Linked DNA regions of Homo sapiens: all the other regions are linked to region 1. The links are contacts of gene promoters, found by promoter capture Hi-C in blood cells and fetal thymus (Javierre and others, 2016). All regions are on one chromosome and are shown on one strand. The core of a region is centred on a gene start or on the middle of the fragment in contact, and the rest is flanking DNA. Distances in the headings are between cores, read along the strand shown. Region 1 holds the start of ZNF329 (zinc finger protein 329). Region 2 holds the start of ZNF471 (zinc finger protein 471). Region 3 holds the start of ZNF835 (zinc finger protein 835). Region 4 has its middle 20 kb from the start of USP29. Region 5 holds the start of ZFP28 (ZFP28 zinc finger protein). Region 6 holds the start of ZNF71 (zinc finger protein 71).

Region 1 (4,214 bases), core at 252-2,751:
GCTCTATCTATGGAGTAGCCATTTTTTTATTCCTTTACTTTCTTAATAAGCTTGCTTTCACTTTACTCTATGGACTCGCCCTGAATTTTCTTTCCCAAGATATAAGAACCCTCTGTTGGGTTATAGCTCGGGACCCCCTTTCTGGTAACACCTATGCATGTGTCTCAGGCAGGGAGAAGATAAAGATAAAGCTAATGTGGCAAAAAGTGTTAATAATTTTAGAATCTGGATGGTTTTAGAAGTGTTAAACTATTCCTGCAACTTCTATGCAAATGCGGAACTTTTCAAAATGAAAAGTTGGGTGAAGAGAGAGGTAAACAAGCAGTAGAATGGAGGAAAGTCACTTGCTGTGGGAAAAAAGAAAAAACAGACAAAAACTGGGTATTCAAAACGTACTTCAACAAGCCCAAGTTCCTATAGCCAAATTTTTTAACTTGGCAAAAAATAAAGGACCTTTTCAGGCTGATGGTAATTTTAATAAAGGTTTAGGTTGCATTTGTCAAAATTCATCAATGGTACAGGGAATATCTGTGCATTTCACTGAAAGTCAATTTTGGCTCAAAAAATTTAAAAAAGCACTACTGAACTCTAATTCATGGTAAGCATAGTGAGGTGTTTGAGGGAGAAGTGTTGTGATATCTGCAACTTACTTTGAAATGTTTCCAAAAATAGGTGGATTAATGAATGGCTGAAAGGATGGACAGAAGGAAAGATAAGGGATACAGTAAGTTCAGCAGACGTTAACCGGGTCGTTCACTGCACAAGTCTTTCAGCTTCTCTATCTAAACCAACATTTTATGTCATAAAATATTGAGACTGGAAGACTGCACAAAGGAAATATGCCACTAAACCAAGGGAAAAGACAGCAAAATGGTCACTAAACACGTGCAAAAATGCGGCCCTCACTGAGAATTGCAGTAAAACATGATTTTGCAAATATCAAATGGAAAAACACACAGGTGATCTAACACCTTCGAGACTCAAGGGGAAGCGGCTCAGCCCACTGGCTCACGGCCGCCAATTCAGCCGGAGGCCGACCCAAGCCTACACTGCCCCTCACACCTGACAGAAAAGCTGCAGACTCGGGGGTTACCCCCGGAGACGGACCAGGACACCCAGCAGGCGTGGCAAAACAGTCTCTATGGGAGGGCGGGCTAGAGATGCGAGCGCGGAACTCACGGGTGACGCTAAGGAAAGAGCGGGGGCGTCCAGACCAGCCCCGGAGCGACCTCGTCCTCAGAGGAGTGACCCCAATCGCCACGGAGCGTCCCCACCCACCAGGAGAACTACGCCCCTGGCCAGACCCTCGCCCTAGCGGGCCCGACATGCCCACCACCCAGGTGAAACCCACCCGCGGACGCGCCCCTCGCCGCCCCACAAGGACCCGGCGGACCTCCACCCGCCAAGACTTCCCTCCGCAGGAAACGGAGGCAGCGCAGGGCTCAGGGATGCGTCGGCACTTACGGTTGGCGGCCGGCGGCAGCCATGTTCCGGGCGATTGCGCTTGCGCGGCTGCCGGGACAAGGATGTGCGCGTGCGCGGAGTCCCCGAGCTTCCCCCGCCCAACGCTGGGGCGGCCGCGGGTACCGGGTTATTCATTACCCTGGCGTGGACTTGCCTCGGGGCGGACGCGCAGGCATTTACTTTCTCCTATGGTCTCCTCTGATTTTTAACCCGATGCTATCATTCTTTTGTTATAGAGCCTTCCTTTTATTTACTGCATAATTTCCTAAAATATTTCTTTATCTATAATCTTTTTTTGAGATAATAATGTTAAAATTCAGAATAAGTACACTCATTATTCATTGGCAATATAATTATTTACTGGGTGCGTGGCTCACGCCTGTAATCCCAGCATTTTGGGAGGCCTAATTTGTTAAAATGACTAGATCTAAGAAATGTAAACAAAGCCAGTAACTTTCCTCTGTAGTAACAATAGCCGGTTGAAAATGAAAACTACACATTTTCATTCTTTCAGTGGTTCTCTTAAACTTTAGCATGGGGAAGCCTAAATATTTACTGACAGGGAAGAGAGAAACTGTGGTATGTGCAACGGAGCAATAGGGGGTGGTTAAAACAAACGGACTGGGCTCACCTAAGGTCAGGAGTTTGAGACCAGCCTGGCCAACATGGTGAAACCCCGTCTCCACTAAAAATACAAAAATTAGCTAGGCGTGGTGGCAGGCGCCTGTAATCCCAGCTCCTCGGGAGGCTGAGGCAAGAGAATCACTTGAACCTGGGAGGCGGAGGTTGCAGTGAGCTGAGATCGTACCATCACACTCCAGCCTGGGGGACAAGAGGGAGACTTCGTCTCAAAAAAAAAAAAAAAAAAAAGGACTAACTTATATACAAGATAGACAGTTCTCCAAAAACAGTTCGAAAAGTAAACTGTGCACTTATCCACATGATACAACTTACCTGGAAATAAAAGACACAAAATCTATATGTTATACAGAGATTGATACATAAGTAGTAAAGTAACAATAACATGGACCAGATAGATTGTCCAACCTCAAGAAAGTGGCAACTGAGGGGAAAGAGTTGGGGAGGAGACAAAGGAGACCTCAGTTACACCTGTGATGCTTGATAGGAAAAAACAAATCAAAACCTGAAAATCTGACTACATGTTAACACAGGTAAAATCTCGATGATACATGGGTGTCATCTTTATTATTTATAGATTATTCTATTACTCTCCGAACCTCTCCGCAGGTTGAAATACTTCACAATTTTGAAATGAAAATTAGAAAAAAAATTCTAAGCCATAATAGTGATTAAATTGTCACTCACAATAGTGATGGTTGGAGCAACTTGGAAATCAATTAGCAAAAGCAATAAAGGATCTTCATGAAGAAAATACAAAAACCTCATTAACAGACCTGAAGTTAAGTTCAGAACACACTGACATATTATTCCTGAATGGAAAGTATTTTTTTAATTTCTCCATGAAGGCCGTATCAGACCAGGCACAGTGGCTCATGCCTGTAATTCCAACTCTTTGGGAAGCCGGGCTGGGGGGATCACCTGAGGTCAGGAGTTCAAGATGAGCCTGGCCAACATGGTGAAACCCCATCTCTAAAAATATAAAAATTGGCTGGGCACAGTGGCTCATGCCTGCAATCCTAGTACTCGGTCTCAAAAAAAAAAAAAAAATCTTCACAAAACTACTAAACAAAAGTATAGCAATTCCAATTCAAAGACTCCCCCCGCCCCCAGCTCACAGAATAAAACAACTTAAAGATCATATGGAGAAAAGTCCAACAGTATCTGGTTAAAAGAACAGTCGGAGACCGGACGCGGTGGCTCACAACTGTAATCCCAGCACTTTGGGAGGCCGAGGCAGGTGGATCACTTGAGGTCAGGAATTCAAGACCAGCCTGGCAAACATTGTGAAACCTGTCTCTACTAAAAATACAAAAATTAGCCGGGGGTGGTGGCGGGTGCCTATAATCCTAGCTACTCCGGAGGCTGAGGCAGGAGAATTGCCTGAATCCTGGAGGCGGAGGTTGCAGTGAGCTGAGATCGTGCCACTGCACTCCAGCCTGGGTGACAGCTATACTCTCGTCTCAAAAAAAAAAGTCAGGCACCCTTTATTAGATACTAAAATGTACCATATTAAGCAGATGGGCTCAAATAGGCACTAATACAGACACAAATATCAGAAGAATAGAAGAGTATGCAAGAAGAGATGAGTAAAAGTAATAATCTAGTAATAAAGTTAACAATAAAGCATAACATCATTAATAATAACAAGGGTGTTTTTTCCATTCAGTGGCAAAGAGAAATCCTTAGTGCTAAGTACTGTGCTGGCACAAGTGTATATTCTTTTTTGTATTTTTTGAGACTGAGTCTCACTCTGTCCCCCAGGCTGGAGTGCAGTGACAAGATCTCAGCTCACTGCAACCTCCACCTTCCAGGTTCAAGTGAATCTCCTGCCTCAGCCTCCAGAGTAGCTGGGATTACATGCGCACACCACCACACCCGGCTAATTTTTGTATTTTTAGTAGAGACAGGGTTTCACCTTGTTGGCCAGGCTGGTCTCAAACTCCTGACCTCAGGTGATCCACCCACCTCAGCCTCCCAAAGTGCTGGGATGACAGGCGTGAGCCACTGCGCCTGGCCACAAGTGTATATTCTTGTAGGTCACATGTAGGCAATCTTTTTCTGTGAAAAGCCCAATAATAAATATTTTCAGCTTTGCAGACCATAAGGTC
Region 2 (4,414 bases), core at 967-3,466, 1.6 Mb before region 1:
ATAATCTCTTGTTATTGGTTGAATTTTGTCTGCCCCAAATTTTGCATGTTGAAGTCCTAACTCCCAGTACCTCAGAATGTGACTGTATTTGGATATAGGATTTTTACAGAGTTAATTAAGTTGAAATGAGGTCGTTAGGGTGGGTCCTAATGCAATCTGACTAGTCTCACCATGTCTCCATGGGTTTTCTCTGGGTACTCCAGATTCCTCCCACATCCCAAAGATGTGCACAGTAAGTTAACTGGTATGTCTAAGTTGTCCCAGTCTGAGTGAGTGTGGGTGTGTAGTAGGCTACACAATCTAGGTTTGTGTAAGTACACTCTATGATGTTTGCACAACAAGGTTCTTAGGAAATTGCCTAAGAACCCATTTCTCAGAATGTATCTCCATCCTTTAGCGATGTAGACTGTATTTCCATACTGTAAATAGTCCCCTTGTGGTGGATTTCAATCTACCAATATGACATCACTGAATGTGGAGTTAGAAAGAAAGGTACAGTTCATGGCTCTCAGTTCCTACAGCTCTTTTAATTTCCTAAATGACTGCAGCAATAAAGTATCTTTTGTTAAAATATCTGGCCTTTTGTTCCTGGTTCCTGAAAAAGCTCCAGAACAGCTCCAGAGCCATAAAGGTGAAAGACAGTATTTCAACCACACATGAGTTTATGTTAATGAGGTGATTTTTGGAAACTCTCAAGATAATCCCAATATTTGGGGGGAGTGGTGGCTAGTTGCCAGAGGAACCAGCCATGTGCTCAGAGGACTGGAACTCACAGCTCCACCCTCTACTTCTGGGAAAAGAGAGAGCCTGAAAATTAAGTTGATCGCCAGTGGCCAATGATTTAATCAATCACATCTACATAATGAAACCTTGAAAACCGAAAAGGCCTGAGTTCAAGCGGCTTCCAAGAAGGTAGACAAAAACACATCCTCGTGCTGGGAGGGTGGTGCACCCCAACTCCACGGGCACAGAAGTTCCTGCACTAGGGATTCTCTCGGACCTTGCCCTACATGTCTCTTCATCTGGCTATTTGTATCCTTTAAAATATCTTTTATAATAAACCAGTAAACATAAGTGTTTCCTTGAGTTCTGTGAGCTGCTCTAGCAAACTAATGGAACCCAAGGAGCCGGCTGTGGGAGCCCCAATTTATAGCACATCTCTCTGAAACACAGGTACAACAATCTGGAGTTTGGAATTGGCATGGGAAGTGGGGGACAGTCTTTTGGGACTGAGCTGTCTAACCTGTAGGATCTGATGTTTTCCAGGTAGCGTCAGAATTGAATTGGAGTAGCGGTCACCTGGCTGGTGTCTGCTGCAGACAGGTTTTTTTGACATGTTAAGACATTATAAGAGACAATAGAAAAAATGTATACGATACAACCTTCTCTGAGTTATATTTCTCCATAGCCCTTTTTACTGTTCATCAGACTGTTTATCTAACTCATGAATTTGTGGCTTGTCTCTCTCCGCTTCAAAGTAAATTACATAATAAGAGGACAGGGATTTTTTTTTCTCTGCTGTATCCCCCTGAATTGCTTTTCCTTATTTGTCTCACCTTCCAATACTAATTCTACAGTTCTCCTAGTCAGGGCTAGTCCCCTAAAACGGGGACCATTTCCATTTTGTTAAGGGGCTGAACGCGGTTCAAGCCTAGCAGATTGGTTCCAAAAACGTCGTGTTATTCACTGCCTCTGATCAGTGACATTCCCATTTGCAGCTGAAAGAGGTATTAATTCGCCAGAGTCACAACACGGTCGGGGTTCCTCGTCGCTGTCTTATTCCAAAATAAGCTTAACACAGAAAGATAATGACACTCCCACGGACTGGCACAGAAGGCCGCGCTCCGAATGACATCGCGATCACAGAGGCACAGACAGCGTCACAAAGCCCCACGCGTACTCACACCGAAGGCTCAGCCGTCGCGCGTTTCCCTCCCAGGCCCCAGGAACTAGTAACTAGGGACGCTTCTGGTCTCTAGGCGAGGAGAGGGGGAGAGCGCAATCTTTGCGCCTGCGCACACTCCTGCTCTTACCCGCCGGAACCCTGGGCCACGCCCGGCTCGCGTAATCACGCACTGCGCAGGCACCGCCCGCTCTGCTCTAAGGTCCCTCTCACTCCTTCAGCAGCCCGAGGACAATCCCCTCAACACTAGGCCACGCCTTGTCTCCGCCCCTCTCGTCCGACCCCTGGAGAGAGGCTGGCGCCTGCGCGATGGGGGGTTCCAGCGTCGACTCACGGAGTCCTTCGGATGAGAGCGTCTGGGTGCCAGACGAGGCCGGGGGTTTGTTTTGGGTGGTTTGGGAGTCCGAGCTCGAGGGCTGGGCCAGGAAGGGCAGGCGAGGCGGGCGGCTCCGACGCGGGTCGCGAAGGCCCAGCCGCGTCCTCTGTCCCCAGGACGACTACATTTCCCAGAGGCCAGCGGGGCGCGCGTACTCGAGTCTGCGGGGCGGAGGCCGCGGCTCGGGGCTGCTGGGCGTTCGGGGCGGCTTGGGGCGGCGGGACCACTGGAGTGAGCTGTGGGAGAGATGGGGGTGTGCCTGTGTGTAAAAGATCTGTCAGAGTGTGAGGCTCCGTGAGAGGGTGTGGTTTCTGTGTGTGTGTGTGTGTGTGTGTGACAGACCGAGAGTCCAGTGTGAGACCAGGGTATGTTCGTGTGTGACAGAGCGAGACGGGCCAGTGTGAGAGACCAGTGAGTGTGAGAGAGATAGGGATGTGCCTGCATTTGAAAGAGAGCGTGTGAAGCTCAGTGAGAGGTTGCGAGGTGTGTGGGTGTGTAAGTGTGTAACAGACCAGGTGTCCAGAGCGTGAGACCAGGATGTATTCGTGTGAGAGAGTGAGACGGGCTGGATGGAGTGTGAGAGACCAGTGAGTGTGAGAGATGGGCGTGTGCCTGTGTGTGAAAGGCCGGTCGGTCGGTGGGTGAGGCTCAATGAGAGGCCGGTGTGTGTTCGAGAGAGAGAAGAATCACCATGTATGCGAGACTAGACTGTGCAAGAACAGAGTGTGAGACTGTGGTATGTTAATGTGTGAAAGGGAGACCAGTGAGTGTGAGAAATGGGTGTTTTGGGTGAAAGACCCGTCAGTGTGTGAGGCCGTGTTATGTGTGTCTGACAGACTGAGAGAGACCAGAGTGTGAGACCAGGGTGTGTTCGTGTGTGAGAGACAACATAGCGTGAGACCAGTGAGTGTGAGAGAGATGAGCACGTGGCTGTGTGTGAAAGACCAGTCATTATGTGAGGCTCCTTGAGAGGCTGGTGTGTGTGTATGAGAGAGAGAAAGAGACTAAACTGTGAGAGTCCAAAGAGTGAGACTAGGTTATGTTGTTATGAGTTTGTGAGAGAGAGGGAGGCGATCAAAGTATAGGACAAAGTTATGTTTCCTGGCTTACGACTTCTAAGATCCTTGGAATCTCCAAAGTATTAAGTGTCTTTTTGCATGCTAATGATTGGTGGGCTGGCAGCCTGTAGGTTGATCACGGTAAGGGATGGTCACAAGAACAATCTAGGCAGGATTAGAGGGTTGGGATTACCTGCCCCATCCCTCAATCTCCAGGGAAAGGAAAGGGAGCCACAGGTTAAACTGATCATCAGTGGTCAGTGATTTAACCAGTCATGCCTACATTATGAAGCTTCCATAAAAACCCAAAAGGACTGGGTTCATCAAACTTCCAGATAGCTGAACACTGGAGGTTCCTGTAGGATGAGCCCCTTCCTATATAACCTTGTCCTATGCATTTCTTCACCTGCATCCTTTGTAATATCCTTTATTACTACAAACGTGTTTCCCTAAGTTCTGTGAGCTGCCCTAGCAAATTAATTGAACGCAAGGAGGGGGTCATAGGAACCCCGATTTATAGCTAGTCAGAAGCACAAGTAAAACAACCTGGGGTTTGCAACTGGCATTGGAAGTGGGGAGCAATTTTGTAGGGCTGAGCCCTCAACCTGTGGGATCTTATGCTGTCTCCAGGTAGATAGTGTCAGAATTGGGTTGCCCTAGAGGTCACCCACCTGGTATTCACTGGGTTGCCCTAGAGGTCACCCACCTGGTATTCACTGAAGAACTTATTGCTTGCCTGGTGTGTGTGTGTGTGTGTGTGTGTGTGTGTGTGTGTGTGTAGATCCCCACACATCTGGTCTTAGAACTGTTTTGTGTTGTGTGAGTGGAGTAGGAGAAACAGTTTGTTTTTCCTCTTTGTCACCTGAGTGTGTTATCAGGGACTGGATTGTGAGAATCCAGAGTGTGAGACCAGGGTATATCAATGTGTGAGAGAAATAGATGTGCCTGTGTGAAAGATGAACAAGTATGAGGCTCCCTGGAGTCTGAGAAAGATCATGTGTGTGTCTGAGTAAAAGCAAGAGACTAGACTGAGAGTTCAGTGATTGGGAGAGACTGGGGTATGTTGGTGTGAGTGTG
Region 3 (3,895 bases), core at 590-3,089, 1.5 Mb before region 1:
CATTAGCATAAATGTACTTGGGGGCCTATCAGGAGTCCTCCATTAGCATAAATGTACTTGGGGGCCTATCAGGAGTCCTCCATTAGCATAAATGTACTTGGGGGCCTACCAGGAGTCCTCCATTAGCATAAATGTACTTGGGGGCCTATCAGGAGTCCTCCATTAGCATAAATGTACTTGGGGGCCTATCAGGAGTCCTCCATTAGCATAAATGTACTTGGGGGCCTATCAGGAGTCCTCCATTAGCATAAACACAGGTGTGGTTGCAGGGGGCTTATTAAGAGTTGCAGAAGACACTCCTTCTACCCCTGTCACTCAGGAAATTCCAAGGGTTTTAGGGGCTCTGGTACCAGGAGCTGGGGATAAAGATTAAACATATATTTCTTATTATATCACAAGATCACAGGAAGACACATGCATTACATCACACTCTGACACACACAGGGTCATACACAATCATACCTGCCCAGACACACACAGACATGCAGAGACACCCAAACCCATATCCAGGGACACACAGTCGCCCTCCTAACCCCCATGCAAGGAGGCAGGTGGGAAGCCATCACCTGCAGCCACACTCACACATGCACACAGGGTCCCGGGCACACGTAGCTACACACACACCCAGCCCCACACGTAGCTCCCTGTGTGAAGAGGTGCACAGAGACGCACAAGGTCACACATGCCACCTGCTCCACACAGGCCGGCCATTACTGGGACACACCCACAGGGGATGGCTGGACACATGTGCAGTCACACTCGGTGGATAGAGCTCCAGCATAGCCAAAGCCCACATGTGCAGCGTCTCCATCATGTGCAGATGCACACACTTCAGACAGCACGGCACTCTACAGGCTCGCACAGCCAGGTCACCCATCATTGTGCTGGCAGGCACACGGGCCGAGCCAGCCTACACGGCGGCACACCCAGACATGCACACGTGGGGTCACACACCTCACATCCAGGAGAACTTTCAGACTTGCCCAAAGGCAGCCACACGTGTATGTGACATGCTGTGATATGCAGACACCGCTTCACATGAACGAGCACATAACACACCGATAAAGTGTTACATGCCTTTACCTGCAGTCACCTGCCTGGGCTGGCACCACTGAGTGAGCAGGTGCAGACACAGTGACACTCGGGGACGGGCTCACAGGCAGTCACACACCTGCAAGGCCTGGCACCGCCGAGTGAGCAGGTACAGACACAGTGATGGGCTGGCACCGCCAAGTGAGCAGGGGCAGACGCTGTGACACTCAGGGACGGGCTCACAGGCAGTCACACACCTGCACCTGCTGGTACCGTCGAGTGAGCAGGTGCAGACGCTGTGACACTCAGGGACAGGCTCACAGCCAGTCACACACCTGCACGGCCTGGCACCGCCAAGTGAGCAGGTACAGACACAGTGACGGGCTGGCACCGCCGAGTAAGCAGGTGCAGATGCAGTGACAGGCTCACAGGCAGTCACACACCTGCACCTGCTGGTACCGTCGAGTGACCAGGTGCAGACGCTGTGTTACTCAGGGACGGGCTCACAGGCAGTCACACACCTATACGGGCTGACACCGCTAAGTGAACAGGTGCAGACACAATGGCACTCGGGGACGGGCTCACACGCGGTCACACACCTGCAGGAACACGCGCACACTACACACCGTTGCTCTCGCCTCCCGGTATCACCTTCGAACGCGCTGGCCGGCCCCCTCCTAGCCTGGTGCAGTCGGCTCCGCTTCTACTCAGTCTCGGGTCCTCCTGGGCCAACGCAGACCCTGGTGCCTCCTTCCTTAGACGAGCTAAGGTCAAGACTTCTGCTGCTGCGGAGGAGCCCGCGCACCAGGCCGGGGTGGACTGCGCCTGCGCATCGGGCCCGCCTGGTTCTTAGGAACTACGACTCCCAGGGGGCGCTGCGCGCTCGCCGGCACCGCGACTAAAGCTTGCAAAGCCTGGGTCATCGAAACTACAACTCCCAGAAGGCTAAGCGTCTGCACACGCTAGGTCCGCAGGGCGCTGACCCCTGGGGGCCCGAGGAGCGCCGGGCTGCTGCCCCGAGCCCCGCCCACTACAGCCTCAGTGCATGGCGGTGGGCGCTTCCAGTAACTCAGGGGTGGGACTTTTTTCTTGCTCAGGGGATGAGGCCGAGCCCACAGGCTTAGAAAGAAGGAACTTGAGTCCGGGCACCTGTCATCCCAGCGCTTAGGGAGGCCGAGGCGGGTGGATCACCTGAGGTCAGGAGTTCGAGACCAGCCTGGCCAATATGGCGAAACCCCCGTCTCTACTAAAAATACAAAAATTAGCCGAGCATGGTGGCATGCACTTCCAGCTACTTGGAAGGCTGAGGCGGGAGAATGGCTTGAACCTGGGAGGCGAGGGTTGCAGTGAGCTGAGATCGCACCACTGCACTCCAGCCTGGGTGACAGAGCGAGACTTCGTCTCAAAAAAAAAGAAGAAGAAAGAAGGAAGCTGAGGTTCAGACAGGCTAAGTCCCTACTGCAGGCTGCGGAATCTAAAAAGGTAGGTGCCAGGGTTTGCAACCCACACTTTTATTTTGGTCTCAGGTAGCTGATGTCATTCCAGTCTATGGCAAAGAAGGTGGCAAATCCATTAACATAGATGAAGAATTTCATTTTACTTTTTAGTTTTATTTATTTATTTATTTTTATTATGTATCATGCTTTTAATACAAACTTTAAAAAATCTGGAACAATAGAAACTGTACAGATTTGATCAATCTTTTTGTTTTGTTTTTAAACTAAAATCTCTAAACACACCAATGTCCTATTCCAAAATATTGCACAACATTCTGAATACAAAACCCTTGATTGTATTCCTCCTTCACTGAAGAAAAAACTTCATGACCCTGCTCCCCGGGCTCCTCTCCAGGCTTGCGTCAATGCCCCCTTCCCATCCCTAGGGAGAAAACTAGAGAATCTATAACTCACTGCATTGAGAAAAAGACATCATTCTGGACTAACAGTTTCCATTCTTCAGAAGATAATCCACCTTTTGATTTGTTCCTGGGAAACAGGGATAGATAGAGGATGGGGAAAGGGGAGAAAAGGTTTTATTTCTCCTCTTTTTTTTTTAAAGTTTGTTTTTCCTGAAAAAATATGTTTCTCTCATCTTTTTAAGAAAAAATCTTGAAAAGAAAAAAATTGTTTTTACGTTAGAAATATACATATATTATATATACCTCTTACATTTTACAAATGTAGCAAATTATTCAATACAAACGGACACCAAAAAATGTAAAAAATAAAAAAAAGTTTTCCTAAGAACCAGGTAAATTAGTGCAGATTTCTGTTTTTGTTTTCTTAAAAAAAATAAAATTGAAGCAAAAGTGCCTAGATTTGAGACAAGACAGACTGAACTGGGCCCAAGAGCCCAGCACTGGAGTCATGCTCCTGAACACACATTTTTCTTCGTATTTCAAAAGACACAAAGGGGTTGGTCTCCCCCCCTCTCCCTACATGTGAGAAACAAGCAGACCTGGTGTGGGTGGGTGCCTGTGTGTGTGGATGGGAGGAGGGATAGAAGGGGATGTAAGGCAGCATCCAACCTTTCCCAGAGAGAAGCTATCTGCTGGGCCTGTCACCTGTGTGGGAGCCGAGGATGAGGGAAAGGGTGGCCCAGACTGGGCTGGCCCCTGAGAAGTCTAGGGGAACAGATGGTGCTGGGCTGAGAAGCCAGGACATTGCCTGCCGGGGGAGGTAGAGCTGGTGCCTACTGCAGGGAGAGGAGGCTGGCAGTGCCGGCCTGGGCTGGACCCACTGCCATAGCAGTTGCCTACTTGGGGTCCCTGGGTAGGATGGAGTGGGTGGGGTGCCAGGGGCTTTGGTGCTTTCTGGTGATGGGACCCTGATGCCAAGTGCCCACTTTGCAAAGATGAAAAAGT
Region 4 (3,931 bases), core at 129-2,628, 1.1 Mb before region 1:
GCTCCCGGCTTGGATCACAGACGCTGATGGCTCAAAAACGTGTGTCTGGGTTAGAGAATCCACCTGTCTCCCTTAGCTCTGCACTGGGGTTGCCCAATTTAATAAATAAAAATACAAATTGCCTGGTTAAATATGGATTTCAGATAAACAATAAAAAAGAATCAACTTTTATTTTAGAATCGACTTAGATTTGGCGAAAAGTTGCAAAGAGAATAGAAAGTTTTCCTTGTTCCTGCACCCAGCTTCCCCTGTTAGTAGCGTCTTACACGAGTATGATTTATCTCAATATTAGTGAACTGGCCAGGCACGGTGGCTAACACCTGTAATACCAGCACTTTTGGAGGCTGAGGCAGGTGGATCACTTGAGGTCAGGAGTTCGAGACCAGCCTGGCCAACATGGTGAAACCCCATCTCTACTAAAAAATACAAAAATTAGCCAGGCGTGGTGGTGAGCACCTGTAGTCACAGCTACTCAGGAGACTGAGGCATGATAATTGCTTGAACCCAAGAGGCAGAGGTTGCAGTGAGCCAAGATTTTGCCACTGCACTCCAGACTCGGCAACGAGTGAGACCCTGACTCTAAAAAACCGTAAAAATAAAAATAAATAAATAATTGCCAAGTGTGGTGGCTCATGCCTATCTATAATCCCAGCATTTTGGGAGGCAGAGGTGAGCAGATCACTTGAGCCCAGGAGTTCAAGACCAGCCTGGGCATCATGGCAAAAACCCTTCTCTACAAAAAATACAAAAATTAGCTGGGTGTGGTGGTGCAGGCCTGTAGTCCCAGCTACTCGGGAGGCTGAGGCAGGAGGATTGCTCAAGCTGGGGAGGCTGCAGTGAGCCAAGACAGCGCCACTGTACTCCAGCCTGAGCCACAGAGTGAGACCCTGTCTCAATAGAAAAACAAATACATAATAAATACATAAAACGCCCATGGCAGGGACACACACGCTGGTTTGGGTTGGAGCCAGCCCGTAAACCCAAATTTGGGGGCCCGGGCTCTCGGCTGCTGCAGCACTGACTACCGTTAAGGTACAATAAAACTGACACATGGGCAGTGAGGGGAATTTGCTCTCCTGCCTCCCTCCCTAAGTTCATCTGCTGAGAAAAATGCTTTGAGATAAACCTGGAGCCACAGCTCTCTGCACAGTCAGATCGCAGGAACGCGGCCTAGCTGCTTCAGCCACGTTCTCGCGGCGCCACCTGGTGGCCATGGACCGCCATCGCCGCTGGACGTCAGGGCCGCCAGGCCCAGCGAGATGTCACCTCCTCTGAGGAGCCTTCCAGGATCGCACCCGGCACGCGCTCCACGCCTCGTTGTCTGTTCTTCGGAGCACCGACCATGATCACAAATCAGCTCGCTCGCTGTGTTTCCTGCCGGGTCGCTACCGCCATGATCCGCACGTAGTGGTCAAGGCTGAGGTTGTATGAATGTGGACGTTATAACCCTGGCTCCCTCTCCCTCCCTATGCTGGGCTCCCCTCGATCCCCAGGCGGTGGGGTGCCCCTGGTTTTTCCTTTTTAAAATTATAAGTCTGGCCGGACGCGGTGGCTCAGGACCGTAATCCCAGCACTTTGGGAAGTCGAGGGAGGGTGTATCACTTGAGGCCAGGAGTTCAAGACCAGCCTGGCCAACATGGTGAAACACCATCTCTACTAAAAATACAAAAATTTGCCGGGCATGGTGGTGTGCGCCTGTAACCCCAGCTACTTGGGAGGCTGAGGCAGGAGAATCGCTTGAACCTGGGAAGCAGAGGTTGCAGTGAGCCGAGATCTCCAGCCTGGGTGGCAGAGTGAGCCTTCGTCTCAAAAAATAAAAAATAAAAAAAAGGTTAAATCAATTTAAATGTCAATGTCCACAGGAGCTACAGATGGTACCAATAGCTCCCAGCTGGGGCTCGTGTATCATTGGTCAGGGCTTCATCAGGATTGGCTACTGCCCCACCCTTGTTAAACATTTTTAATATCTTCCTTGTCTACCAGGGTCAGGCACCTCAGGTAGATGAATGAAGGATGGGGGGGATGGGGGAGGGAGATGGAAGAGGGAAGGGAAGCAGAGGGAGGAGGAGTGAGTGGGCAGCCCTGATCGGAGGTCCCTCCCCATCCCATCTAAAGGGGCTCCCTGGCCGGGCGCAGTGGCTCACACCTGCCATCCCAGCACTTTGGGAGGCTGAGGCGGGTGGATCACCTGAGGTCAGGAGTTCAAGACCATCCTGGCCAACATGGTGAAACCCCGTCTCTACTAAAAATACAAAAAGTAGCCGGGTGTAGTGGTTCATGCCTGTAATCCCAGCTACTCTGGAGGCTGAGGCTGGAGAGTCGCTTGAACCTGGGAGGCGGAGGTTGCGGTGAGCCAAGATCGCCCCACTGCACTCCAGCCTGGGCGACAGAGCGAGATTCCGTCTCAAAAAAATAAAAAATTAATAAAATAAAAATAAATAAATAAATAAATAAAGGGGCTCCCTGCTCTTCTGCTCCAACCTGTGGCTGCCGCATAGGAACATGGGTCACAAAACCCAGAAATCTGGATTCCTTTAAGTGAAATCTTCCAAATTTTATGTTTAAGAAGGTCATGTATTTATTCCTTCCTAAAGACCATGCTGACCAAATCAAATGAGTCTGTGGATAAGTGTGTCCAGGCTTCAGACTACTCCCTTTTGGAGCCTGTGGTGTAAAGGGAACAGCTTAAAGTCCCTCGCCCCAGTCAACAGGGGAATTTAATGTCTTGGGTTCCCTGGCAGAACTTTTCTGTTTTTTTTTTTTTTCTCTTTATCTAACACTTCCATGTGTCTTACTGAAAGCCAGCTGCAGAGTTAGAGCAGCGTTTGGCAGAATCAAATATGGACTAGCGCTTGCTTCTGTACGGCCCTCAGGTTAAGCATGGATTTTATATGTTCAAATTGTTGAAAATAAATCAGGCCAGGCACAGTGGCTCACACCTGTAATCCTAACTCTTTGGGAGGTCGAGGCAGGAGAATCGTTTGAGCCCAGGAGTTCAAGACCAGCCTAGGCAACATAGTGAGACCCCCCACATCTCTACAAAAAGTTAAAAAATTGGCCGGGTGCGGTGGCTTAGGCGTGTAATCCCAGCACTTTGGGAGGCCGGGGTGGGCGGATCACCTGAGGTCAGGAGTTCAAGACCAGCCTGGCCAACATGATGAAACCCCGTCTCTACTAAAAATACAAAAGTTAGCTGGGCGTGGTGGTGAATGCCTATAATCCCAGCTACTTTCGGGAGGCTGAGGCAGGAGAATAGCTTGAACTCGGGAGGCAGAGTTTGCAGTGAGCCAAGATGGCGCCATTGCACTCCAGCCCGGGCAACAAGAGCAAAACTATGTCTTAAAAAAAAAAAAAGTTAAAAAATTAACTGGGTGTGTTGGCACTTACCTATGGTCCCAGCTACTCAGGAAGCTGAGGTGAGAGGGTCATTTAAGCCCAGGAGATCAAGGCTTCAGTGAGCTATGGTTGCACCACTGCATTCCAGCCTGGGTGACAGAACAAGACCCTTTCTTTATTCAAAAAAGAGAGAAAAGAAAAAAGAGAGAGAAAGAGAACAGAAAAAAGAAGAGAAACAAAGAAAAGAAAATGATATTTCATAATATGTGCAAATTATATGAAATTCAAATCTTGGCTTCCATAAACAAAGCTGTGTTGGCCCATGGTCACGCCTTCATTGACATCACCTGGTGGCAGCTTTGTGTTACATCAGCAGAGTTAAGTAGACTGTGTGGCCTGCAAAGCCTCAAATACTTGCTGTTCTGGGCCAGGCGCGGTGGCTCACACCTGTAATCCCAGCACTTTGGGAGGCCAAGGTGGGCGGATCACCCGAGGTCAGGGGTTCGAGACCAGCCCAGCCAACATGCTGAAACCCTGTCTCTACTAAAAATACAAAAAAAAAAATTAGCTGGGTATGCTGGCAGGTGCCTATAAT
Region 5 (4,141 bases), core at 986-3,485, 1.6 Mb before region 1:
TATTTGCAAAATTCTAAAAATTTCTGTGATTATGTCCACTTTTTCATTTCTAATACCATTTCTTTGATTGTTTATTTCTCTTTTTTTCTGCTAAGCCATCTTTAGCATAACTTTCATCCTCATGATGCCAAGGTGGCTGTTTGCAGCGGACCCTATCCTTGTTGGACTGAACAAAGGATGACAAACATGGGAATAAAGACAAAGACAAAAGAGTATATTTGGAAGAAGAGGTCTGGGGGCTCCTTGCTTCCAGTGAACACAGGCCCTGAGCCTTTACAGCCCTTCGTATTTATTAGAGTGAATAGGGAGAAGGGGGGTGGTTGTCGGTCAGTAGCTTGATTTACAGCAGGCTTGCAAGACTGCATTCGTCAACCAATAGGCTCTAGATGTCCCATTAGATAACCTCAAGGAGCATGACACCAGGGAGTGATTGCCTTCAGCAAACCTTCTGGTGGCTGGAGCAGAAGCGACTTTGCCCACATTCTGCATTCATGATAAACAGTTTGCTGTTTGATCATATAGCCTCCAGTGGAATGTTGAGTTGGCCACGATCCCTTTGCCAGCTCTCTACAGCTGTTCTACCTGTTGACATCCTGTGTCATACCCAAGCAGGAAGAAGGTTGTGTGAGATGACAAAAGGCCAGAGTTACATGCCAGCTGTGTCTCTTTCCACACATCCACCAAACCCCCAGCAAATGTGTACTTAAAATTCATTGGTTACAGAGCCACTACTCCTTACAAGGAGACTGGGGAGGTGAGTATTATAAGCTGGGCAGATGGCCACTTGAAGAGCATCAATGTTCTGCTGTGGAAGGAGTGCAAAATAGACACCAGAGAGACCATTAGCAGTGTCTGCCACAGCTATTACATGGCTAGGTCCACCTGACTGAAACTAAGCCTTTTCTATGAGACTGAAGTGCTTTGAGAGAAATGCTGACCTTGTCCTTTCTGCAGCTTGCGGCTTTCAGTCACCCTTGGATTCAGAGATAGAAGTCATCTTAATTCCATCACTGAGGCCAGGAGACCTGAAAGAAATCAATTCAAGAGTAAGGAGACCAGGCGTGCAGTGTGACTGGGCGTGCAGAGGTCAGTGCATCTGTGATGACTGGTGTAACAGCATCACTGCCTGTGAGCCAGCAAGGCCCTTGGCTCCCAGGATGAAGCTCTCCAGTTCTGATAAGGCCCCTGGGGGAGAGACCGGTCCTAAACATGTTCAAGAATAAATCCATCAGCTAACTTCAGACCGTGATTCACACAGGAAGGGAACTTTAAGAGGTCGCCAGGGCTGGTATTTTTGAGACGTTAGGCAGCCCTCTCTGAGGCGATGACAAGTGAATGGCATAAAGGAGCCAGCCCAGACGAAAATTTGGGGTTAGACTATTTCGACCCAGGACGTGCAAATACATAGGTTACAAAATGGAAAATGGTATTTTGGAGGATGGGAGGCCCGTGTAGCCAGAGATAATGGGAGAAGGTGAGGGGGCACCCAAAACAATCCCACAAGCTCTCTACATCCCCCTTCCTAGCCCACACACATCACCCATCAGAGTGATCCTCCGGACTCCGGAGGCCCCCAAGATTGCCTTTCCCTTCCCGGTCGGCAGTGACGCTCCCGCAAGGAGCTGACGCCCAGGCCCTTAGCACCTGTCACAGCCAAGCACCCTTTTACTCCGGCCCTGCGGTCCCACCCCTCGCCGCAAGCCCCGCCTCACCCGGTCTGCCGCTGCGCCTGCGCGACTCCCAGAAGCCTTTGGGGGGTGGGTGTGTAGTCAGAGCGGCCTCTGCTTCCGGCCACACCCAGGCCCAGCGTTGGCCACCACTTATGCGGCGGCTGCGGTCCAGGGACAAGTGAGAGCGACCCGCAGAGGGCAGGACGGACGGGCGTTGCATAGGCCCGGGGCCAAACCGTATCTTGCAACCTGAGCTCCGAGGGCCGCCGCATCCGTCCCTGCTTGGGACTACGCTTCCCAGCGGGCATTGCGCCGAGGCCACGCCCGGTTCCGGCGGCGCTGCCTGCGCACTGGAAGTGGGAAGCGCCGGGCTTCTCTAGGCTGAGGGGCGGGGCGGGGCGGGGCGGGGCGGGGCGGGGCGGGGCGGGGCGGGGCGGGGCGGGGCGGGGCAGCGGGGAGGGGTGGGGAGGGGCGGGGCGCGGCCGGGGGCGGGGCGGCTCCGCGGCGCGGCCCAGTGGATGCCGGGCCATGGGGGAGCGCGCGCGGGGCTGTTCGCTGGGCGTGGCGGGCGGGTGTGGCCAGGGGTGTGGGTCTGTGAGGGACCGGTCGGAAGGGCGTCGCGCGGCCTCGGGTGACATGCGGGGGGCGGCGAGCGCGAGTGTCCGCGAGCCGACGCCGCTCCCGGGTAGAGGCGCCCCCCGCACAAAGCCCCGGGCGGGCCGAGGCCCGACTGTAGGGACTCCAGCCACCTTGGCCCTCCCTGCCCGGGGAAGGCCGCGCTCAAGGAATGGCCTCGCATCCAAAGGCCAGCGAGGAGCGGCCCCTACGGGGCCTGGGCACAGAGGTGAGAGTGACAGGTGTTTGGGGCCGAGCGGACAGGGACGAATTCATCTCGGGATGAGATCTGGGAGGGGGTTGGGCTCTCGGGGACCAGTTGCTGGAGAACTGTGCCCCTGGTCTTTGAAGCTGGTGGAGTGGGAGAATCTGAAGATTTGGAAGCTCAACTGATTCAGAGCAGCAAGCCGCGGTAAAAGGGTGTTGACTTTCCCAGGGTGACTCTAACTAGACGCTTTTCCTGTTTTCGTGCTCCCAGGGAGGAAAAAAACCTATCTCCACGTTGTGGCAGTCCCTAGGCAGGGTAATGATCTGATCCCACCTTTTCATGCAGGAAGGGACGTTTCTAGGCTGGTGATTTGGGACTGTGGTGTAGACCTGGTCTCTAGCTACTCCTTTCTCTTTCAGCTCTGCCTTCCAGGGACACTGCTCTTCCCCAGGAGAGAAACAAGAAGCTGGAGGCTGTGGGGACAGGAATTGAACCTAAAGCCATGTCCCAGGTGAGTTGGCATTTCATCTCTTGTCTCTGAAATGCAGTCTTGCTTTTCGGGACTTAATGTTGCTTATTTTCTTGAAAGTTTTCAGTTTAAGAGACCTGTTTGGGCGCGGGTTTCTATTTCTTCACGTTCTAGTGAAGTGATGGGCTACGGGGAAAAGTTTAAACTGCCCGGGGCCTCGATGCCTGCTTCTTCTTCATCCCAATCAGCCTTCATTCTTGATTGATGAAATGATTCAGCCTCTCCCTTGTACCGCTTTTCTCAGAGGGACTCTGATGGAGGAATTGTGCCCCTTGAGGAACACGGCAGACTCTTCTGCTATACATGGTTTGTTTGGTGACCACTTTGTGCCAGCCACTGAGCAAACCAATAGCTAAGCCCTAGTCCCTGCTCTGGAGCTCACAGCCTGTTGACCCAATGTCAAGGAAACAAGCAAGATTCTAGAATGTGATCATCCTTGGGCCAAGTATTATGAGCGAGGACTACAAGGCGCTCCTGGCTTCCAGCCTCCTGTAGCGGAAGGGTAGGCCTATTTACCAAGGAGGTGATTTTTGAGCCTTGCCTTGAAGGGAGAGAAGATGTTTGGGAGGCACAGTAAAGAAAGACAACATTTTAGGGAGAGGAGGCGCAATATGAAAGGCTTTTCCACTTGATTTTGTGGCTTTAAAACATGCCAGTAAATAGTTGTGTTTGTTTCGGTTGGCTTCTCCTATAAATATCATAGCTAGCTCATTAATAGATGAACCATTTCACTTCCACTGAGGCCTCAAAAAATATATGTACAGATGAACCAGCTTCCAGTTGTCCTACCCAAACTGCTCTTGAGTGGGTTACTGTGATCTTCACATTACCAGATGCAGTGCTCAATTCTTAGTCTTTTTTGACTATCATTGGTATTTGAAATAGCTCAGAGGCTGGCAAACTTGTGCTGGATGAGGCCACAGCAGAAAATATGTTAGGCTTTGAAAGTCCTGCTGCATCTACTCCTTTCTGCTCTTATAGAGCTAAAGTAGCCAAAGACAATATGTAAATGAATGGATGGGCTGTGTTCCAGTAAAACTTCAGTTACAAAACAGGTGGCTACCTATCCCTCAAATAGCTCATCCCTGTCCTTCAATAGGCCCCCTTTTTTCCCTTGGC
Region 6 (4,302 bases), core at 803-3,302, 1.6 Mb before region 1:
CAATTCCACCATTCACATACTGTATGATTCCATTTGTATAACATTCTTGAAATGACACAATTGTATATATGGAGGATAGACTAATGATCGAGTCTGGAGGAAAGTGAGTGTGGCTATAAAAGGGCAAGATGAAGGATCCTTGTGGAAATATCGGAAGAGATCCTTGTGATGGAAATGTTCTGTCTCTTGAATGGACCGACGTCAGTATCCTACTTGTGATATTGCAAGATGTTGCCCTTGGGTGAAATTACCTAAGAGACATAGGTCTCTCTGTATGATTTCTATATTATGTTTTACAACCTGACGTGAATAAATCCACATTTATCTCAGAATAAAATATTTCATTTAAATACATCATTAATCACCACCTAAGGCTAGCTGCTGTTGATGGTTTTGTGGCCACTTGGACATTCAGCAAATGTTTTTAAACTTGGCTTTGTGGTTTACTATAGAAAAGGGTCTCAGCCAGGCATCTGGTTCCTACCTTTCCTCTTGTGTAAGCTCCCCTGTCTGTATTACCCAACTAATCTGGAAAGTAGCTTGGCTGTGAAGATTGTTTATAAATCATAAAATGTGGAGACCAGGGGTCAGAACAAAGGAAACTCACAACAAGGATTAATGCTTTTTTTCTTATATCTAAAGATATAGGGAATTGACATTTAAAGATCTAGTTGTTTTTTATTTGCAATTCTAGAATCCAGCCACACCTCCTTCTATAAAATAGAACTAGTGTTCTGGTGATCCAAGCAGAGGAATATGGCTTCATACACAGAAACGGGCTGAGGAAAGCAGAAACAGAGAACAAGAGTGGATGGGTCATTTCAAAGTTACTTTCCCTATCATGGTTAAAGCAAAGGGGATTTCTTTTATCATGCCTGCTAAACTGGCCTGTTTGGGACTTGGCTATTATCTCTCTCTTTCTCTCCTGAGAGGAGGTCAGGTAACAACTTAGTTGGAGTTGGTGGCCTGGAACTTCAGCATGAGTAGCTCCATTTCGATTTGATCTGTTGGGCCTAGTGCAGGAACTCAGTCCAAACCGATAGTCTCCTATACATTTTATTCTACACCTATGCTCATTTTCTTCTTTGCACATCTGTATGCTTAAAAAGTGTTCTTTAAAGATAAGCATGATTATCAGGTTTAAAGTTGCCTGGGATGGTCCCTCAGGCCAGTCCATTGGCTGGACTGCAGAAATGTCTGCAGCAGATGTGACACGCCTCTTTTATCCCCCTCATTTCTCTGCCTCCACCCATCCCTTGTCCTTTTCTGTTTTCCTTCCTCCCTCCTCCCTCTCCTTACCCATTCTTTCCTCTCTTCAGCCTGTCCTGCCCTCCCCAACTCGACTTCCTCTTTCTTTCCTCCTTTTCCCACCCTTTTCTTCTTCCTTATAGTCCTTTCCACCTTCTCATCCCCCTTTCCACCCTTTCTTCCTTCTCCTCCTTGCCGTCTCCATTCTCTTCCTTTCCTGCCTCCCTGCCCCTCCCTCCTCCCACCCGCTCCCTCTTCTTTCTGTTGGTTCCTCTCCTCTCTGACCTGTTCTTTTCCCTTAGTCTCTCCCCAGCCCTTCCTCCTTCCCCTCCATCCTTCTTCCAACCCCTCCTCCTTCTCCATCTCTTCTTCTTCCTCCCCAGCTCTCCTCCCCAAGTCCCTCTCCATCCTCTCTCTTCTCCCCGCTCCTCCCCATCCCTCCTCCCCTTCCATCCTTCTTCCCACCTCTCCTACTTCTTTTCTCCCTCCTCCCCCCTTCCCTCCTGTCCCTCCTCCTCGCCCCTCCTTTCCCTCCGTCTTTCTTTCCACCCTTCCTCCCTCCGTCTCTTCTCTCTCCTTCCCTTTCCCTGCCTCCTCCCCCTCAATCCTCCCTCTCGCCCCAGCCTCCTTGGCCGCGGAGTCCTCTGTGAGATGGAGGAGCTCAGTTGGCTCCGCTCGGCTCCACTCGGCTGGGCTCGGCTGAAAAAAGCCGGGGGGAGGTGGCGCGCGCGGGTTTCTGGGAAGCGTAGTCCGGCGCAGTCCGCGCAGGCGCACTGCCGTCGGGCGGGCCTAGCGGGCGCGGTCATTGTCCTGGCAGAGCGGCGAGCCGGTGAGTGTGGCTGCGGGGTCGCGCCCACCCTCTACCTGTGCCGGGGGCCGGAACCTGGCCCCGGGGAGGGCGCGGCCTCGGGGAGACGGCGTGCAGGCCCAGGTACGGGGAGTGCAGGGCTGGGTGCTGGTCCAGGGCGTGCGGGCGCAGGAGAGGGCGTGCAGGCCGGGACCGAGGTGCGCCTGGAGAGGCTGAGCGGCCGAGGAGAGGCTGAGGGGAAGCTGAGGGGCTAAGGAGAGGCTGACTGGAGGCTGAGGGGCTGAGGAGAGGCCGGGGCCAGGGAGGGAGAGGCGTGAGTGGGTTGGAGGTAGGAAAGTTGCATGAACACGAGGGCCATCCTGGGGGGAAGGTGGCCTGTGTGAGAGACAGGCAGTGCATATCATCCTGAGGATGAGGCTGTGTCTTTGTGGATATTGTGAATGTGTCTGTGTGTGTGTCTGTGTGGGTCTGTATGTGTGTGTGAGACAGATTGTGTCGTCCTGAGGGTATGGCTGTGTCTCTGGATATTGTGATTGTGTGTGTGTGTTTGTGTGTGTGTGTGTGTGTGTGTGTGTGTGTGTGTATGAGACAGAGAGAGAAACTGCGTGTCGTCCAGAGGCTGGGTCTGTGAATGAATGTGAATGTGTCCATGTATGTCCGTGTGGGTCATGTGTGGTAGCGTGTGTGTGTGTGTGTCCCACTTCTTCAGAGTCTTGGTCTCTCTGTGGAGCTGTGTCTCTCCAGGTCTCTGCCTATGCATGTGTGGTGATATCTCTGAGTGACTGCCTGTGTCCTTGTCTTTGGTGTTGTGGGTGTGTCAGCCTTGATCTCTGTCCATGAGTGTCTCTGTGGGAGGGTGCCCTCTGGGTGTCCACTATGTCTGCTCTTTCCATGCATGTCTCTTGGCATGAGTGTAGGGCTGTGTCTTTCCAGGGGCCAGTCCTGTCTGGATCTTTCCTATCTCTGTGTGTCCACCTGTGTCTAGAGTATTTCTTGATGTTTGCGTGTGACTCTGCAGGGGTGGGTGCGTCTGGGTGTGCCTCTTCCAAAGACTATATGCCTGGACAAGGGAGCCTAGCAGAGCCACTACCTTCTCACCCTACGCTTCTCCTAGTCTGCCTGCCCACAGTTCCCTGGCTTTTTCCTGCCCATAGAAGGCTCTGGAGGCGTAGGGGCCTGGGAGTGACAGGGGCCGGGTGGAGGAGGGGAAAAGGAAGGCTGTTTCTTCTGCCTCCCACAGGATCTTCTTAAAGTGGGATCAGACTCCCAAAGGGTCTCTGTGCCCTACTCTGTTCTGACCAAGGAGAGGTTGATTTGTTCAGGGAATGTGTATGCAGCCAGTGCTGGCCATTTATAGATGTCCCAGTAACTCTGAGGTAGAGACCATCATCATCCTTATCTTACAGATGGGGAAACTGAGTCTCAGACTAAGTGACTCACCCAAGGCTACCTCAGGCATCCAGGTTCCAGAGCCCCCACAATTAACCACCAGACAAATGGGAGATCCCTTTTTTCCCTTTCCGCTCAGCTGACACAAGGTTGCAGGATTTTCCCCGAGGGAATCCCCGCTTGGAAACAATGGAAATGGAAGAAAGGAAGGAAATGCCAAAAAGCTCAGAGGAAGAAGAATCCAGATCTAAGGCCAAACTGGGTTCAACAGCCACTGGCCATACTCTTGGGCAAGTCACTTCCAGGGCCGCTGCATGATTTTTAAGGGTACTTTGCCTTCATGGGCCCCTTGCTCCATTGTTTTTTTAAAGCACTAAAAATTACATTTTGTTATTTCATTAATAGGAAGACAAATGTAATCTAGGCTGGATTAGATATTTTCTTATGATTTTAAAAGAAATTAAGACCTTCCTATGGGCCCCTAAAGGTTTCATGGGCCCCATGCTCTGTGCCTACTGGGTAAGTGGGCTCTGGTCACTGCTGTGATCTGGCAAAATGGGCCAGTGTTCTTGACCTCACAGGACAGGGGTGAAAGAGACCACTATCTGCAAGGAATTTTTTTTTATATTAAATTGTGTTTCAAAAATGTTGATGGTAATATGAAGTTTCTACACCCAGGGAAACAATTCAAAGGAAGAGAAAGAAAAAATAATTAATAACTTCTACCCCCTTCTCATTCCCACTCCATGCCCTCCAGACACCAACCCAGCCTCATTCCACAGCCTTCCCCAGGCTGGAAGATGCTGTACAGATGTGTCCACATCCACATGTTTTGGTTTGTTTTTTCACAAAGGGGC

What was found. Contacts are between HindIII fragments. The CHiCAGO score rates a contact against its expected background, and 5 or more counts as called.
Region 2: a contact is called between the fragment with the promoter of ZNF471 here and the fragment with the promoter of ZNF329 in region 1, in 5 of 17 cell types (naive B cells, naive CD8 T cells, erythroblasts and 2 more). The highest score is 5.9, in naive B cells.
Region 3: a contact is called between the fragment with the promoter of ZNF835 here and the fragment with the promoter of ZNF329 in region 1, in 12 of 17 cell types (total B cells, total CD4 T cells, non-activated CD4 T cells and 9 more). The highest score is 19.9, in total B cells.
Region 4: a contact is called between a fragment that was not itself captured here and the fragment with the promoter of ZNF329 in region 1, in 7 of 17 cell types (naive CD8 T cells, total CD8 T cells, activated CD4 T cells and 4 more). The highest score is 13.0, in naive CD8 T cells.
Region 5: a contact is called between the fragment with the promoter of ZFP28 here and the fragment with the promoter of ZNF329 in region 1, in 4 of 17 cell types (naive CD8 T cells, total CD4 T cells, monocytes and 1 more). The highest score is 9.0, in naive CD8 T cells.
Region 6: a contact is called between the fragment with the promoter of ZNF71 here and the fragment with the promoter of ZNF329 in region 1, in 2 of 17 cell types (activated CD4 T cells and non-activated CD4 T cells). The highest score is 7.3, in activated CD4 T cells.

Annotation. Positions count from the first base shown.
Region 1 is chr19:58,149,288-58,153,501 of GRCh38, forward strand. ZNF329 (zinc finger protein 329) reads right to left here and starts at 1,502. Exons shown (of 4, transcript NM_024620.4): 1 at 1,465-1,502. RefSeq lists an enhancer at 1,579-1,638. The HindIII fragment of the contact is 7,703 bases long and covers 49-4,214 here.
Region 2 is chr19:56,505,639-56,510,052 of GRCh38, forward strand. It overlaps ZNF471 (zinc finger protein 471), which reads left to right and starts at 2,217. Exons shown (of 5, transcript NM_020813.4): 1 at 2,217-2,282. The HindIII fragment of the contact is 1,838 bases long and covers 1,790-3,627 here.
Region 3 is chr19:56,669,918-56,673,812 of GRCh38, forward strand. ZNF835 (zinc finger protein 835) reads right to left here and starts at 1,840. Exons shown (of 2, transcript NM_001005850.3): 1 at 1,659-1,840. LOC105372473 (a long non-coding RNA gene) reads left to right here and starts at 2,062. Exons shown (of 4, transcript XR_936110.4): 1 at 2,062-2,514. The HindIII fragment of the contact is 4,177 bases long and covers 1-1,934 here.
Region 4 is chr19:57,098,165-57,102,095 of GRCh38, forward strand. No RefSeq gene overlaps it. Among named protein-coding and RNA genes, the nearest start is that of USP29, 20 kb to the right of the region's middle. The HindIII fragment of the contact is 7,444 bases long and covers 1-3,931 here.
Region 5 is chr19:56,536,713-56,540,853 of GRCh38, forward strand. ZFP28 (ZFP28 zinc finger protein) reads left to right here and starts at 2,236. Exons shown (of 8, transcript NM_020828.2): 1 at 2,236-2,514; 2 at 2,913-3,004. The coding sequence starts at 2,307. It overlaps ZFP28-DT (ZFP28 divergent transcript), which reads right to left and starts at 2,022. Exons shown (of 3, transcript NR_183967.1): 1 at 1,713-2,022; 2 at 939-1,025. The HindIII fragment of the contact is 11,931 bases long and covers 1-4,141 here.
Region 6 is chr19:56,593,250-56,597,551 of GRCh38, forward strand. ZNF71 (zinc finger protein 71) reads left to right here and starts at 2,053. Exons shown (of 4, transcript NM_001370215.1): 1 at 2,053-2,179. ZNF71-SMIM17 (ZNF71-SMIM17 readthrough (NMD candidate)) reads left to right here and starts at 2,053. Exons shown (of 5, transcript NR_163263.1): 1 at 2,053-2,179. RefSeq lists a silencer at 2,015-2,404. The HindIII fragment of the contact is 22,646 bases long and covers 1-4,302 here.